Regions from separate parts of the Homo sapiens genome. Here region 2 is linked to region 1. The links are contacts of gene promoters, found by promoter capture Hi-C in human tissues and cell types (Jung and others, 2019). All regions are on one chromosome and are shown on one strand. The core of a region is centred on a gene start or on the middle of the fragment in contact, and the rest is flanking DNA. Distances in the headings are between cores, read along the strand shown. Region 1 holds the start of EPHA7 (EPH receptor A7). Region 2 overlaps EPHA7 (EPH receptor A7).

Region 1 (5,218 bases), core at 1,246-3,745:
AGAGGCGGCGGCGGCGGCGGCATTTACGGAGAGAAAAAGTAAGCAGCTGCACTTTGCCTTCAAGCGTCAGACTCTGACACGCGCTCCCTGTAGCGATGATAACTGACCAACCCGAGAGAACGTGCACAAGGAAAGTGAGGGAAGGGGGTTTCTTATCTTCCTCTAGCCACCCCCAAATGCCCCAGGAGGCCCGGCACCTGCTTCAAGCGGTTCCCAGCGCTAGCCCTTGGGTACTGCGGGCCGCCTCGGGGCTTGTGAACTCCTAGAACGCCAGCTCTTGGTCGCCGCTGCGCCCTAGAGGCGTCGCCGCCTAGAAGCCGGGCGCACTCGCCGCCCGCCAGCCACAGATCACCACCCTCCCTCCCATCACCCCCGCGCCTTTTATACATCACACTTCTGCATCTAAAGAATTCAGGCTCTTAGAATCAGAATCCTCTTCACGTAGCTTGCACCCAGAAGAGCAAAGAGAACTAGACATTCTGGCTGCAGGAACCTCTCCCCCTAGTGATGCAGTTATTTATAGCCCAAACTCCAGCCCGAGTCTGCGTGTGTTCGCGCGCGGGGTTTCGCCGCGGCGGTGCAAACTTTTCCTCTGGTCCGCTATTCCAGAGGAATCACAGTATGCCAGGGCTGAAGGTTTCTGATCGCTAACGTCAGGGGAGTAGAAATGTGGTTTTGGAGGGGATGAGCGTGCGTTTCTAGCAGATGTCCGTCCTTCTGCAAACGCGTAACCGCCAGCTTGGAGGCACGGGGTTCTCTGAATGGGTTCAGCATCTATACAGGTTGCAGATGTGGAAAGTGGGGTCAGAAGGTCAGGCTGAAAGAAGGACTAGAATTTGGCGCCGGGTTTGAGGGGGGCTTGAGCGAACTAAGAGGAGTGCACGATGAGAATAAAGAAAAGGTGCACTAAGTTTTCAGAAATAGATGAATCAAGGACCTATATGTAAGTCCCCTCAACACCCCGCCCGATAACCACCATGACCTAAATTTCATAACAGATTCCTCTCCCTCTACACATCAGGAATAAGTAATTATTTCTCTTCTGCTTTTAACAGATCGAAAAATGAAACTTAGATACACAGCCTGAAAGACCAGGGGGGCGACGGGATGAGGGGGGTTGGGGATGGGATTGTGACACTGCTCAAAAGCAAGAGACTTCCATTGACAGGGTTTATTTTTCCCCAGCTCCAACTACAGGCACCGAAAGGTATTTTACCTTCTGTCAAAGGTTCAAAGAAGGAAAACATAACCATATACAGGCGTATCTGTAACAGCTTGCCAAATAAAACCTGCCTTCTCCTACCAGAACCAACCCTCAGGGTTCAGGTCTTTGGCAAGGATTGGGCACTCGGATTCCTCAATTGCTGCACTATGGGGCAAATAATTGGGGACTTTGAGTCGCCCAGGCGGCATCCTTACAAATTGCACAGCTCCAGCCCGCCCCCTGCCTCCACGGCCCGACCAAGCCCGCTGGGCTGCCGCTGCCCCCATGACCGCTGGGCCCGACGCGCAGCGCGCGCTGAATGGAGACATCCCCGGCCCTCGGGTCGCGCGCCGCACGCCGCGCTTCACCTCCGCGGCGTTATTGTTCCGTGCTGGCGGCCGAGCGCCAACCGCAGGACCGCGCCGCCGCCTCCGACGCAGTGAGCACTTCATTAGTAACCCGAGCTTTCCGAGCTCATCGAAGTCTCGGTCCCTCTGGGAAGGCTCCGGGCTCCCGCCACTCGCCGGCGGGCTGGCGGAGACGGTAGGGGCTGCATTTCCCAGTCTCCAACCCAACTCTGGCCGCAGCTCCCACAGAAGGCGAATAAGGAGACAAGGAAGACCGAGCTAGAGAGAGATGTGACCCGCCTGAGGTACTAAGAAATAAGCTCGCCGGCAGTTCCTCCAACCCCACCCCACCCCCGTTGCTGCTCACGCCCTCCAGACTGCCCGCGCCAGAAATCCCGCACCCGTCGGATGGACGGCTCCGGGCACAGGGCTGTAGGCGGCTCGGAACAGCCCTGGTTCGCGCTCGCTGGTCCGCCAGGAGCGGCCTCAGCGGTGAGGGGGCGGGGAGCCGGCGGGGGAGGGTCGCCCGGCGCCGGAGGCGCGGCCGGCAGCGCCGCGGACGAGCTGGCTTGTGCAGGTAGACATCTAAATAAATAAGTCAGAACAAACTTTGCTTTCCCATCACCTTACCTTCCTTCGCAGCCTGCGCCTCCCCTGTGTGTGCAAAGCGGAGCAGCCAGATGTAGCATAAAATAATCCATGAAGGGTACCGAGTTTGAAAAACCATGGTGCATGAGCAGGTTTTATTTTAGGTTTCAGTTATCTTGAGTCGTGGATTTTTAAATGCTGTTTGTTCCGAAGTAGCTTTTGTTTTATTGTGCTCCTTGCATCGATTCCCCTTCTCGGTCCCCGATCGGCTGCTCCACGTTTAGCTTTTTTTAATTTCCCCCCCACTCCTGTTCGCTCGCACCGTGTTTGCTGCCTGCAAGTCTCCGACTGCAGACCGGCCGCTTGCTCCACACTCCAATAATATCAATTAGGGGGGGAGGGGGCGGGGCTCCGAGCTGAGAGCCTCCGCCACTCGGGCTGAGTGGCAGGCACAGCCGGCCTGCCAGGAGGCGATTCCCAGGGCCAAGGGGCGGGTCCCGGCGAAATGGCCGCCCCGGCCACGGGGGCGGGGTCCGAGGCAGGAGCCAATCGGTGCCGAGCGGAGTCAGGTTGCTGGTCCAGGATTCCCTCCAGGTTCTGAGCTCGCGCTGGATGTTCAGAGGAGAACGAGGATGGTAGCCGAGGTGTGTGCTGCTTTGGACGCTCTGCTTTTAGCAACCGCAGCTTTCGCGTAGCAGAATAAATCCGAGAATAACGCTCCCAACTTACACTCTTTTCTATAGCTGTACTCCGCGCGATCTTTTAGAAACCAGAGGCGAAGCAAGCCTTCTCTCAGCTACCAAGCACGGAGCCCGGACAGTGAAATGAGCTGTGCCTTTAAGTAAAGTGTGTTTTACTTTTTTGTTGTTAGAACCTCCGCGGGCTGGGTAACTTTGTTTTTTGCCTTTTTGAAAAGTTTCTACTTCTCTTTTTCTGTTACTCCAAGAGCCGTCAGTTTTAGGTACCACCCACCACAATCCCTGAAAGAATAAAGTAACCAAGTGTATTATGTTTAAACAATGTTTCCAAGAGTTTGCAACAAGCTCTGGCAAAAGAAACAGAGGAAAAGGGAGTGGGAAAGGAAGTCTTTTGTTTTAAGCGCCCCTTCTCCTCCGCCCTGTCTTTTCACCATAGTTTGTTGAGCGAAGTGAGACATTAGGAGAGAACCTTCTGATGGTTGCGTATCGTTTTTTTACGCGTTTATCATTTTCTAAGGTTTTCCTTGGATTGCCTCCACTTTGATAGTTTTCCATTTCGCTGCATAAATTACACTGAATTTTAAAGAATGCCACTACGTATTAAATTCATAAAGCAAGACCTTTCTCTTCGCAAGTATTTACCATTTTCAGGAATTATTCAATGCTTATCTTTCAAAGAGAAACTAAGAATAAAAAAAGTCATAACCAATATCTCCAGTTGAATTCATTCAACCCGAACGGCAAGGAAGGCTGCGTAGAGAAATCTGTTTTCCATTAGGCAGTTTCGGACACTTTGTATTCAAGAGGTAGGTAATAAGAGGAAGAACTTTAAAATTTTAATTGCCAAATCTTCAATTTCAAAGGTCACACAGAGTAACTTGATCACATGTTTAAGATGAATTTCTTTTTTTGTCCTATAATTTCTTCCTTTAAAAATATTTCTCAGTCATTTATGATTTCCTTTTATTTCCGATAGATCCAAAGTTTGATCTCACATAAGGCTCCAAACTTTTTCCAACCTTTCTATCTGGAAATATAAAGTAAATTGAGTTGTTTCTGCTTTTTATAGTAGGGAGTTCTCTAAGATGACAACCCCCAGATATTTATTTGTATTTTATGTTAAATTGTCTCCTGTAGTTTTTATTTGCCTAATAAAATAACATGGAAGAGAGATATGAAATTTATTCTTTAAACCTCTTTGATTCTGTAGTTTCTGAAACATTTCTTCAATGTTACATATTCCTAGCCATTATGCCTATTTAATATTTTAGAAAGTGTATCAAAAAGCATCTTCAGTGTCCCTTAAAGGATGCATAGAAAATGTAAATGCGTAATAGATTAACCTTAGAAAGAGACAAAAAAAAATATGGGGAGAACACACTTGTTATAGAGGAGATGAAGCTTTATTTACACAAATAGATGATTTAAGGATGAAACTTGTAAACTAAAACATAAGAGTTAAAAACATAAATCCCTGCACTTAGTCTTTAGAACTCACAGAACTACAAACTTACAAATATTAAACCACTTCTAATAGTTAAAACGAATTCTCCAGGATTTCAACACTTTCCCCAGGGTCTCATCCCCACTTCTTAAAATGACACCAAGGTGGCCTTTAAAGTTTAAAATATTCCTTTCATCTATTGAATGACTAATACTCAATGATGTGAATACAAATACTTTTCCATTAAAACCAGGAAACCAAAGAAGTAACATCCTTCACTCCTCTGATGAGTGTAGGTGGTATAGTGAGTCCTCTTTTTGTGTCCCTTCTCTCTGTCAGACACAGGGGCATGTGTAACTTTACTCTTATTTTTAGAGACAAGAAGCTTCACATTAAATGCACATGTGCCAGGCTGCTGACAGTTCTCCCTGCATAGCTGCACAGTGATACTGATTTTTAGGTTTTTCAAACTTCTCTTCTTTCTTTTGTAGTATCTAGATATATTGACAAAGAATTCGGAGCATTTAAATAAAAATAAATGACAGTCAAGAAGACAGTGTTCAGCATACAGTATATGATTAATATATAAATTTACACTCGACTGTATTTGACTAATGATAAAGCATATAGACCTATTTGTACATGAAGCCACTGACATAAAAATTATCAGTATACAAAACTTTCTCATTTTAAAATAACATAATGGTGAACTTCCTCACACCATTACAATTTATTTTAGCTTCATTTTATGATTTAAGCATATTATTTCTAATCAATTATTTTTAATAATGCGATGTGTTTGTATATAAAGTGAATTCAAAAGGAACTTGTCTTCCTGAGCAATACCAAATAGTGTATGAGACCAACACCTGTGCGCCAAAGCAATAATTCTGAAAACTAGTTTTACATTTTTATGCATTCATTGTACAACTAAGTT
Region 2 (5,218 bases), core at 2,011-4,510, 130 kb before region 1:
CATGTACATAATAATACTCTGGAAATTCATAGATTTGGTTTACTTTTAAGAAACAGTAAATCATGTATTTAAACAATATATAATTTGTTTATTAAGAACAGGGTCCATGAGAAGGAAACTGAAGAAAAAGGGAATATGAGATTTGTCTTTAAGGCAGATGTTACACATTCTGTTAATCATACACATTCATAATAAATCCTATTTATCCATTTAAATAAAACTTCCATTACGGAACACTGAGTGCTTAATAGGTGACTACACTGTTTATAATTTCCCAAATACTTTTCCATCACACCAGCATTTTTCATTATTGTGAACACAATGAATGGATTACAACCGAAGTTTTAAAAAATAAATTAGAATAAAAATTGAGTTCACTGCAGATAGTAATGAGAGGTGACAGCATGCTGGCAGCCCTCGCAGCCCTCACTCACTCTTGGCGCCTCCTCGGCCTTGGCGCCTACTCTGGCCACACTTGAGGAGCCCTTCGACCTGCGGCTGCACTGTGGGAGCCCCTTTTTGGGCTGGCCAAGGCTGGAGCCGGCTCCTTCAGCTTGCGGGGAGGTGTGGAGGGAGAGGGGCAGGCAGGAGCTGGGGCTGCGCACAGCGCTTGCGGGCCAGCGCGAGTTCCCGGTGGGCGTGGGCTCGGCGGGCCCCTCACTCAGAGCCGCGGGACCTGCCAGCCCCGAGCAGTGAGGGGCTTAGCACCTGGGCCAGCAGCTGCTGTGGTCGATTTCTCCCCCGGCCTTAGCTGCCTCCCTGCAGGGCAGGGCTCAGGACCTGCACCCTGCCATGCCTGAGCCTCCTCCGTCCCCCTCCCCATGGGTTCCTGCATGGCCAGAGCCTCCCCGAGGAGCGCTGCCCCCTTCTCCACCGTGCCTAGTCCCATCGACCACCCAAGGGCTGAGGAGTGCAGGAGCAGGGCGCGGGACTGGCAGGCAGCTCCACCTGCGGCCCCGGTGCGGGATCCATTGGGTGAAGCCAGCTGGGCTCCTGAGTCTAGTGGGGACTTGGAGAACCTTTATGTCTAGCTAAGGGATTGTGAATGCACCAATCGGCACTCTGTATCTAGCTCAAGGTTTGTAAATACACCAATCAGCACTCTGTGTCTAGCTCAGGGTTTGTAAATACACCAATTGACACTCTGTATCTAGCTAATCTAGTGGGGACATGGAGAACTTTTGTGTCTAGCTCAGGGATTGTAAACACACCAATCAGCACCCTGTCAAAACAGACCAATCAGCTCTCTGTAAAACAGACCAATCAGCAGGATGTGGGTGGGGCCAGATAAGAGAATAAAAGCAGGCTGCCCGAGCCAGCAGTGGCAATCCTCTCAGGTCCCCTTCCACACTGTGGAAGCTTTTTCACTCTTTGTGATAAATCTTGCTGCTGCTCACTCTTTTGGGTCCACATTGCCTTTATGAGCTGTAACAATCAATGCGAAGGTCTGCAGCTTCACTCCTGAAGCCAGCAAGACCACGAACCCACCAGAAGGAACGAACAACTCCAGACGCACTGCCTTAAGAGCTGTAACACTCACCGCGAAGGTCTGCAGCTTCACTCCCGAAGCCAGCGAGACCAGGAGCCCACCAGAAGGAAGAAACTCCAAACACATCCGAATATCAGAAGAAACAAACTCTGGACACGCCACCTTTAAAAACTGTAACACTCACCACGAGGGTCCGCGGCTTCATTCTTGAAGTCAGTGAGACCAAGAACCCCCCAATTCCGGACACAGTAATATAGTTTCACAGAACCTTTGCTTCACATGTTTATGTGCATATGGATCAAGGAAAATAAAGATATATAATATGCATCTACTAATTACTATAAATACAATTTAAAGTTTTGGAAATCACTATATTACATAAAATATAATTGAAGGTATGCCTATTCTTAAAGTGATATTCATTTAAGCTGATAAAATACAAAACATAATTCATACAGCAAAAATGCTTGATAGTTCCATATTATACCATTAATTTACTCCATCCCAAAGTTCTCAATAATGGTTGAAGAGAATGATCAATTTCATTATATTTTGGCTGCTATCAGTACCATAGTTGTTTCTATTTTATTCTATCTTTTTATTTTATTTCTCTCCTTTTTTCCTGCTATATTTTTTGACTGTATGTTTTCCAGGCCTAAAACCCATATATATCAAACATAAATTGACTTTCTTAAACATGATTTAACAATGTTAGTTTTTGCAGAATTCTTCCTCGTTAGTGGCTTTGCTCATTTATTTTTTTTTTTCAAAATCATCATTCTGGTGTTCCTCAGAGTGATGATCTGTAAAGTGGATTATCCTACAAGGGGAAGAAGAAAAGAAACAGGAAAGAAAGGAGAAAGAAAAGAATAAGAAAGATCAGCAGCAGCAGGGGGAGAAGGAAGTGAAAAGGAAGGAAAATGAATGTGGCTTGAGACTCATTAATACTACCTCATTTATAAAGATATATGCACACATATGTTTATTGTGGCACTGTCCACAGTAGCAAAGTCATGGAACCAACCCAAATGCCAATCAACATCAATGACAGACTGGATAAAGAAAATGTGCTAAATATACACAATGGAATACTATGAAGCCATAAAAAAGGATAGGTTCATGTCCTTTGCAGGGACATGGATGACACTGGAAACCATCATTCTCAGAAAACTAACACAAGAACAGAAACCCAAACACCTCATGTTCTCACTCGTAAGTGGGAGTTGAACAATGAGAACACATGGACACAGGGAGGGGAACATCACACACCAGGGCCTGTTGGGGGGTGGGGGGCTAGGGGAGGGATAGCATTAGGAGAAATACGTAATGTAGATGATGGGTTGATGGGTGCAGCAAACCACCATGGCGTGTGTATACCTATGTAACAAACCTGCACATTCTGCACATGTATCCCAGAACTTAAAGTATAATTAAAAAAAAGTACAGTTAAAAAACTTATCATTTCAATTGCTCCAGGTACTCTGAATACATTGTATCTCAAAAGTGCATAAACTTAAGAAATTCATATTGCTTAATAAGTTCTCAATATTAGTCAAGATTTACCACTTTATTGCAAGAATCTGTTACAAACTGAGCACTTAAGTTTAATATTTTCTGCTAAATACATTTTGATTAGCTTTGCAACTTCTATTTTAAAGTTGTTGTTTTACAAAGCAGCATTAATTTACTATATAATATTTTAGTACCAAGAGAAAATTAACGCAGCTAATTAATACCCAAGAATCACTGCACTGGGAAGATCTGGCTTATAATGAATAGTTATACAGAGTGAGAGTTACCATTTTATGAATAAGTTTGGCTCCAAAAGTTAATTTGTAATTTCATTGTTTGTAATTTGGAGTTAACACAGAAGTAATATCAGAAATAGCAGATTGCTAGGCCAGCCAACAAACATGTATTTGACCCAGAATGTTCTTAAACTATTGTAAATTTGCACAGATAAGAAATCGAAAACAATTCTGTTTTAATATTATTAACTATGCAAAAGAGAAAAACCAAGACAAAGAATAAAATGTGTTTGCTATTTCTACTGATGCAGTTGCTTCAATTACAGGAATGAAGATCTCCCTGAATTCTCCCCATATTCTGATATCTCTTAGCCAAGGACAGAAACTTTTGCTTGTTGTCTGCCTGTCTCCTTCTCTTGCCACATATGAAGTTCCGGCTTTATTCCTAAATAATCTCCAGCCAGCAAGAAATAACGAACTCAAAAACTAACTAGGATATAAATATAAAGTAGATGATGTACTGACTTTCATCTTTTTTCAGTTAGAGCTGGGGTCTGTGGCCCATGGGCCATATCTGGCTAGCCACTTGTTTTTGTAAATAAGGTTTCATTGGAACACAGCGGCACCCTTTTTTACATATTCCCTCTGGCTGCTTCTGTGCCAAAATGTGAGTGCTGGGGAATTCTAACACAGAAAACATGGCCTGCAGGATGTGAAATATTTATTACCTGGCCCTTTTCAGAAAAAGTTTGCCTTTCTCTGAGTTACAGTCTGTTTGGCTTCAAGTAAGAAAACTCAAAAAACTAGTAATTTGATTGTTGTTGTTTTTCCTTACACACACACACACACACACCCTACACACACACCCCCACACAAATGTATTCTACAGATGGGCATCTATGTTTTATTCAGTTGTTCAAGGCTATACAGATGATTCTCATGGCCTTTCCCTCTTGGCTGTTGCTGCTACCACACCTATGACATCTATATTGCGGCATGGAGAAGGAATAAGCAATGCGAATGCTCAGCACCTGAATTAGGAAAGCCAAAGTTTCCAGTAAGCTATGGAAATCTTCTGTTTGCATCTTATTCCCTAGGCTGGGAAATGGATTTTTAAAATGTAATCTGGCTGTACTGCTGCACTAAAAAATATGGTAAATAAGAAGAAAGAAGATATTAGGGAGAAAACTAGCAGTGTCTGTCACCTTCATCATCCCAATAGCAGAGGAGAGGGAGATCACACACTTAACTTGATTCTCCCTGCTCCCCAGTTAATTTCTTCTCTGAATATAGAACAGAAGAAACCAAAGGAATTGATTCAGATTTCCTAAGTGAAGGCACCAGATCATGGATAAAAATAATGTTTTTAAACTGGGGCTTGGAAGACTATATATGATAGCATTAAACCTTCATTTGTCAGGTTTAAAAGGTAGCAGGTGAGAAAAATATTTTTTGCTTGTATCTGGGAGTTTTCAGGTGAAGCTTTTCCCTCCAGGACCAGACAGCTGTGGAGACCCTGAACAGGGCAAAGGTTGCGTCTGAAACAGTCACATCCGGTGATTTAAACATATTTCCAGTGACAGAAGTCATTTACTAGATGGCATATATAATATGTTAACTAGCATGAATATAGTACTTTTTAAAAGACTTTCAATAACATTTAATTTCTCTGTTTTATAATTGAGAAATATTTATTTGAAAAAGTCTCAAATTGATTCACAGTACTAACAAGGAATACTCCACCATGCATATTTTTGGCACTTAGTATATGCTAAATAAACGAATAATGGTGTGACACTACAAATTACCTTCACTCTTTTATATAAGCCAGTGTCTTCCTATCTATTGGATTCTTCCTGAAAGATTTTGTGTAAACTCTCCCATGAAAATAAAATTGTTTCTCAAGCCTATAACTCTTTCCACCTGCTGGGGAATCTCTTTTCTTCACTGTATAGCCAAATATGAAAAAAATTGTCCATAT

Evidence for each region. The method cuts DNA at HindIII sites, captures the fragments that hold promoters and counts their contacts. A contact is called where the count stands out against the background at its distance.
Region 2: a contact is called between a fragment that was not itself captured here and the fragment with the promoter of EPHA7 in region 1, in 1 of the 25 tissues and cell types used here (thymus).

What each region holds. Positions count from the first base shown.
Region 1 is chr6:93,417,064-93,422,281 of GRCh38, forward strand. It overlaps EPHA7 (EPH receptor A7), which reads right to left and starts at 2,496. Exons shown (of 17, transcript NM_004440.4): 1 at 2,182-2,496. The coding sequence starts at 2,278. RefSeq lists a silencer at 2,544-2,743. The HindIII fragment of the contact is 11,378 bases long and covers 1-4,452 here.
Region 2 is chr6:93,282,076-93,287,293 of GRCh38, forward strand. All of the region lies in intron 5 of EPHA7 (EPH receptor A7), which reads right to left. Among named protein-coding and RNA genes, the nearest start is that of EPHA7, 130 kb to the right of the region's middle. The HindIII fragment of the contact is 5,210 bases long and covers 656-5,218 here.